Linked DNA regions of Homo sapiens: region 2 is linked to region 1. Evidence: promoter capture Hi-C in 16 types of primary human blood cells and fetal thymus (Javierre and others, 2016). All regions are on one chromosome and are shown on one strand. Each heading gives the region's core, a stretch centred on a gene start or on the middle of the fragment in contact. The rest is flanking DNA. Distances are from core to core; before and after follow the strand shown. Region 1 holds the start of SAMD4A (sterile alpha motif domain containing 4A). Region 2 overlaps SAMD4A (sterile alpha motif domain containing 4A).

Region 1 (3,318 bases), core at 321-2,820:
TATATATGCTGCAAATGTCATTTTACTAGTCTCTAGCGTCACCTGCATATTATTCTGAAGACGAAGCTCTAAAACCAGAATATCTGTGGGGAAAAATGAATAATAAAATTGGATTTTCATGTACTCCTCACACAGCCTTATCCAAGCTTGGCTTCTGAAGGGCAGTCCCGGGCATCTATCATGTGTTGCTGAAATCCAGCGAGCCACGTTGCCCAAAAGAAGGAGGAGGAAGGAAAAAACACACACACCCAGAAAATCCAGACTCTACGTGACCTGACTTACTTATTTCCCAGGAAACTGCATGAGAGAAAAATCAATCATTCATGCTACCGTAGCTACCACACGGAAAGGGCTGACGGAGTTCACAGTGGGCAAAATCCCAAAGCGGCCGGCGGAGGTAAGTAGGTGGGGGGCGGTAGTGGGGGGACACCCGGAGGGGGTGGATTCCGAGGGCCTCGGGGCCACGCCGTCCAGGTCCCGGCGCGGCTGGCAGGGACTGGCCTCGGCCTGGCCCGAGGCAGAGAAGCGGAGGGAGGAGCGGGGGTTGGGCAGGCGGGACGGCGGCGGCGGCCGCCGCACACTTACCGGGGCTGTTGGCCTCGCGTTCGAGGACGTGCAGCTCGGCGCAGTCGGCCAGCGAGTGCTCCAGGCAGAGCTGGAGGAAGCGGGCCTGGGTCTGGCTCACGCGCTTGAGCAGCGACAGCAGCGCAACAGTCTGCTCGCACTCGTTCCAGCCCTTAAACCAGCCCGCCAGCACCCCGACCTGGTCGCGAAACATCATGGTTAGGGGGCCGCCCTCGGTCTACAGAGCCCCCTGGGCGCCCCAGCCCGCCCCGCCCGCCCCAAAGTTTGGCGGAGCCGCAGCCCCGCGGCCGGAGACGCGTTCCTGTTCCAAGGTGGCTCTGGTGCCCGGACGCTGCAGGTACTGCCTGGGCTCCTGCCTCTCTTGTCTGGTTTCAGTTACGTTCCGGTGGTTCTGGCTGATTTCCCCAGAGACGATGACAGACAGTAGCACGGAAATGTTTCTTTAAAAAAAAAAACGACTTTTTAAAAATCCCCCACAAGGCACACAACTGAATGAAGAATGCTTTCTCCCCCCTTCTTGCAGCTTTGGGATGGTGATTTCCGGCGTCCTGGGGTCTCCTCCCCGCTGGGCGGCAACTCGGACCCTTCACGCCCGCATTCCCGAGCGGCGATCACCACTGGAAGGAGAGAAAGAGCTGCAGTGAGACCTCGGCTAGCGGAGGAGCGCGCCCTGGGGGGACGAGGGCATCAGAGGGTGCTGGGGCCAGGGGAGGGGGCGTCCCGCGGAAGGTTGGGTTCGCCGAAATCCAGCCGCCCCCTCCGCCCCCTCCGCACCCGATGTGGGAGATGGGCTATTCCCCACCGGGTAACAGCGAGAAGCCTGCTTCCCAGGTGCGGGAGGAGACCCCGCGGCTTCCTGTTGCTGCCGCTGCCAACGGCTGGTGCTCCCCTCACGGCCCGCCTGGGGTGGCCTCGGGCGCCGTGCTTAAGAACGCCAGCACCAGCAACAGATCTTCCCCGCGCAGAAAACTTGCAATGCGGCTGCGAAGGGGCGCGGGGGTGGGGGTGGGAGCTAATGCAAAGCAGAGGCGGAGGCAGCGGCAGCCCGAGTTCCTTCCTCCTCCTCTTACTCCTCCTCCTCCTCCCAGAGAAGCAGCCGAGCGGCTGCAGCTCCATCTACAGCAACAGCCAGCATCTCCACCGCCAGGCGCCCCTCTGGATTTAGGCCGTGAGCAGCCGCGGCAGCAGCTCGAGACAAAAATAAACTCTCTCCACCCAAAGCTCCGCGCCCAGCGGGCGGCGGCGCAACCCAGAGCCCCGGCTCCCCCGCGCCGCGCCGCACCAGCCCACCCGGGAGGTCTCCCTGGGCCTGCTCCGGCCGGAGCGGTCACTGTGCGCGCGCGTGTGCGTGTGTGTGTGCGCGCGTGTGTGGCAGGCATCCTGCCGCCGCCGCCTACGGGCTGGTCTGTCCGGCCCGGAGCCTCGCCCGCGCGTCGCAGGCCGAGGGCGGCACAGCGCTGGGCACACGCCCCGCGAGGGGACGGCCGGGGTCCGCAGCGCTGCTCCCTTCGGCCAGCGGGGCGGCCCCGCGGGGAATGCGGATCGGCGCCGCAGGCACACGCCCCCCAACGACAGCAAAGAAAGTTCGGCTGCGGGGGTTCCCCCAGTCCCATCCCGGTTCTCGTGGCCGCCGCCGGCGGGGAGGAGAACCCAGCGACTCAGCCTTCAAGGAGCCGCTAGCTTCCAACAACACGCTGCTTCCGGCTCCCAGAACTTCTCGGGCGGAGGGGGAAGCCCCCGGGGAGGGGACCCCCAGTGACCCGCGGGTCCCCCGCCGAGGGCCGTAGGGAGGGAGCGCTCACCTCGGCGCGGCTCATCCCGGCGGCTCGGGGGCCCTTGCGCGGGTCCGGGGCCGCGGCGGCTCTCAGCGGGGTTGGGGGCGCCCGGAGCGCCGGCCGCGGGCCATGCCGTCGGGGCGGGCGGCGCGGGGAGAGTGCGGTGCTTCGAGTCGGGGCCGCTGCAGCCGCCGCTGCTGCTGCCTCCAGTGTCGGCTCGCGGAGGACTGAGCCGCCCGAGCCGGAGCTCCCCACATGCTACTGATTAACATACACCATTACATCATGGGCTTGGCAGGGAGCGCCCGAGCGGGGGGAGAGGAACCCGGGCGGCGGCGACGGCACGCGGGGGGAGCCGGGGGGAGGAACCCCGGACCCGGCGCAGGGCGGGGGGACGGATTCCTAAGTGGGGACCAGAAAAAGGGGAGGGGAGCGGAGTGGGAGGAGCTGGTGGCGCAGAGGGGTCGGGTAGAAGGAACCTCCGAGAGGAACGAAGAAGTTCGGGGAAGAGGACGGGTCCGGGTGAATTTCTTCCTGCGGCCGCCTGCGTGTTCTGGAGGGGTCGGGACACTCAAGCCACTGGAGCCCCGGCAGAAAGGGACCCGAGGGCGCTCGGGCGGGGGCGGTGCTGCCACCCGCTGCTTGTCCTTGGGAATGTGGTTCGTCCGCTCGGCTGACCCTCGGCCCTTCTGGGGCCCCGGGGTGGCCGAGGTGTTTGGCCCCCGGGCGGTGAGACCCGAGGTCACTGCCGCACTTGCTGGGATGGGTTCCGGGGGTCGTGGAGGCGAAGGGTTCACGAGGCTGAGGGGCAGTGCGCAGGGTTGGACCTGCCCAGGCGCTAGGTTCCGTGCCGCCCTAGTCCAAGGGCCTGGCCCGGGTCGGGTGCCGGATGCCCTTTGCTCTGGCGCAGGCTCCTAGAGGCCGGCCCGGCGCCTGGCTGAGTCCCACTCTTCCCCGG
Region 2 (3,518 bases), core at 175-2,674, 100 kb before region 1:
CAGAGCAACAAATTACTTTACAGTTGCACTTCATCATTTCATTGTTCCCATGTTACAGACAGACATTTTATGGTAATTGATCTTGATTTAGTACATACATAGACTTATTTACATGCTACCTTGTACCAAAAAGAATTTTAAATGACTTACATGTGGTCTTAGAAATTGCCCTACATCCTTATAACCCTTAAAAAATAATACTATTCTTGTCTAATAAGTTAGATTTAAAAAAAATTCATGATAACCTTTATGCAGCTAAAGTTAAAAGCAGATCAAACCTAGTGTTCAAATCCTCCAATTTTTAATTTGGAAAACAAATCCCAGGATGACAGGGCACCCTCTCAGGGGCCCTGTGAACCTTAGTCAGCCTTTTCTGAAGTCTTACGGAATTCCAGCTATAGATAGGTAGAAGAGGAGGCAGAGAGTGACAGATTCCACATCATGACAAAGTGAGACGTCTGCAGATGACTGAAAATAGTCTCCCACGGTTGGTTTTAATCTTCCCACCTTCCCTCCACCCTCGTACACCCTTCTGCGCTTAGGAAGAGTAAAGATGACTGCATTTAAGTGGCTGACAGGCATCCCAAGGCTCGAAAAAATTTAAAAGAGGGAAAAAAACACAAAAAAAACAGCTGGATGTGGTGGCATATGCCCGTACTCCCAGCTACTCCAAAAGCTGAAGTGGGAGAATCGCTTGAACCCAGGGGTTCCAGTCCAGCCTGGGCAACAAGGCAAGACCCCATCTCAAAAAAAAATAAATTTAAATTAAAAACAAAAACAAATTCCAAAGCAGAATGGCTGACTATACCCTGAAGAAAAAAAAAAAAAAAAAAACACTATAAACAGAAAAGGAAGCAGTAGATGGGGGTAATGGTGTGACATTTTCCTTCTCCCCATCTCCCAATCTCCCCCTAACACTACTCTCCATTCCTGCCCCCACCCCAATGCCTCTGCAGCACCACCCCTTCTCTTGCCCCAAAGTTCAGCTTCCTGCTAGGGCCCTGTCGCACCTCTTCCCTGAGGTGTCAATTCAGGCCTATGCGTTGAGCCCTGATAATCCAAGCTTTGATTTCATGCCTGCTGGCAGCTGGTTCATTGCCACATTCACTGGCACTGAGATGTAGAAACCTACTCTGAGACAGGTTCAGATTCAGGCTTCACACACACCCACTACAGAATTCTGGAAGACTGAGTTCGTTCCACGTGTTCAGTAAAGTCCAAGATTCTAGGCCTGACACTTGTCCCAAGCTGCCCTCTGCACCTCTCACCTTCTCTAACCCTGTGCCTCACTCAGCCCAGCCTCTGCCTTGGCTGTGCTTCCTCCTGGACAAACACTGCCCACCTCTCCTTGAAGGCCAAATCTATACCTGTCCTTTGACAAACTCATTTAACAATCACTCCCATTGCACTCACTAGGTGCTGTTCTAAGCACTTTCCATATCTCACTTAATCCTTACAACACCCCTAGGTACTATTATTATCCAGATTTCAAAGATGAGGAAGCAGAAGCATGGAGATGGGACCTAGCTTGCACAAGAAGCCACAACAAATAAGTAGTAAAGCCAAGGTTCAAACCCCAGAATCTGTGTCCCTAACAGTGATGCTGCTGGGCTGGGCTGCCTCTTCCATAAAACTCCCATGTCCCAACTCCAGCTAAAATTACTTTTTCCTTCCAAGTTCCAGAGCCCTTCAGTGATCTTTCTCTTACGATCTAACCATTTTCTGCCTCACTTTCGCCACACTTATCTTTCATTTTTCATCTTTCCTGGCAGATGGTAAGCTTCTTGAAGACAGAATCCATGTCTGATTCAACTTGGGTCCCCTCAGCCACGCCTGAGCTCTGCACATCCTCGGTGGGTGCCTGTCAATATTTATCGGTGGAAGGAGGGGAAAAAGAATTCACTCAGCTAAGGGATCTCCTGCTGGAATGAGGAACACTTCCTTCTTTGTGTTCATCTCTATGTGGCTGCAATGTTTATATTTACTTTTGTTGTTTTAGGAGCAATTTTAGCTGCTATTGGTAAGGAATGCAGGTAGTCTTGAAGGTCAAAGCTATGTCTTATGAGCATGGGAGGCAACAGCAGTTAAGTTCTCCTCTGTTCCCTCCACATACAAGAGCTACTTGTAGAGGTGGTAACAATGATATGAAGACAACAATTGCAGCAATAACAACAGCTACCATCAATCACATACCACGTGCTAGGCACTTTATATCCTATATTTGTAATTCTTTCAATAAGCCTACAAGCCAGGCTTTATTATCCTTATTTTACAGATGGGAATTGTGATTCAGAAAAGTTAAGTCATTTGGCCGAGGTCAAAAGCTGGTAAAACATAATGCTGAGGCTTGAACCCAGTTCTGCCTCCCCCAGGCTTCGTCTGGCTCCGTCCTCTACACAGCAATGCCTTTCTTAGCCCTGAAGGAGCTTCGCTTTCTGTAAGAGTTAAGAAAGGCAAGTCACCTGGGCCCATTCATTCTTGGCTTCCTGGATTTCGTGGTTTTGGTCTTTTATGTGAAAAGCTACCCTTACACATGCACATTTCTTCCAAGAAACCAGATGAACGGTAACCTACTTTCACAAAGCTCAGAGAGTCCTTAATGCCTAGGAACAGACTGGACGGCGATCACAAAAATGTACTAAGAGATTTACAAGAGGGTGGTGCAGATGGGGGCGGGGAATGAGGGATGGGGCCAGACAGACTTGCTTGGGGTCAGACAGGCAGAGCGAGAACTAAATGTTCTGTTCGGAAGAAAGGATACATCACTCTTCATTAATCTATAAAGTTGTCTTAGTTGGGCCACAACAAACACTCAGTGCGTTCACAACGTGGCCACAAAAACATTTCACTGGTCTGGGTGTGAACGTTTTTTCTTTACACAGGAAAAGCAGTGCTTTTCACCCCAGGGGGCTGGGGGGGCAGAAGGGAATCCCTCAAAACGCAGCATACACTTAAACATGATTCAGCTCTGATTCATAGAATCTGGAATATTATTCGATTCACTCCGGGATTCTTGGTGCAAAGCGTTCCCTGCATGCTGGCAACGTCATCTTTCCATGCTACTAAGCGACAGACAACTTTCTTTAACATGCTCTGAAGCTCACAATATGTTTAAGACAGACTTTTCTGTGTGTGAGAGAAAAGAGGTGCTAATTATAGGCAGGAACAGCAATACCTAGTGGGGGCCTAGTTAAAAACCAACACCAACAGTGGACTAAAGAAAGGAGTGCTAGCCGGGCGTAGTGGTGCACGCCTGTGGTCCTAGCTACTTGGGAGGCTGAGGCAGGAGGACTGCTTGAGCCTAGGAGTTCAGGGCTGCAGTGAGCGATGATCGCACCACTGCACTCCAGCCAGCCTGGGCAACAGAGTGCGATCCTGTCTCTCTCTAAAAAAAAAAAAAAAAAAAAAAGAAAGAAGCGTTGCTTCTAAAAATAAAGCTCTCCTTAAATATTCTTTATCAGCTTGTTTCAGCCAAACTTGACACATTCGGTACACATTTCAACCCTGTGACTTTTTTC

What was found. The method cuts DNA at HindIII sites, captures the fragments that hold promoters and counts their contacts. A CHiCAGO score of 5 or more calls a contact.
Region 2: a fragment that was not itself captured here is called in contact with the fragment with the promoter of SAMD4A in region 1 in 7 of 17 cell types (M0 macrophages, M1 macrophages, megakaryocytes and 4 more); the score reaches 8.5 in M0 macrophages.

Annotation. Positions count from the first base shown.
Region 1 is chr14:54,565,380-54,568,697 of GRCh38, reverse strand. SAMD4A (sterile alpha motif domain containing 4A) reads right to left here and starts at 1,570. Exons shown (of 13, transcript NM_015589.6): 1 at 1,360-1,570; 2 at 586-1,202. The coding sequence starts at 781. RefSeq lists silencers at 539-598, 839-898, 1,739-1,928, 2,049-2,098, 2,659-2,788. The HindIII fragment of the contact is 5,259 bases long and covers 149-3,318 here.
Region 2 is chr14:54,669,337-54,672,854 of GRCh38, reverse strand. The region is part of intron 2 of SAMD4A (sterile alpha motif domain containing 4A); the gene reads right to left. Among named protein-coding and RNA genes, the nearest start is that of SAMD4A-AS1, 17 kb to the left of the region's middle. The HindIII fragment of the contact is 717 bases long and covers 1,066-1,782 here.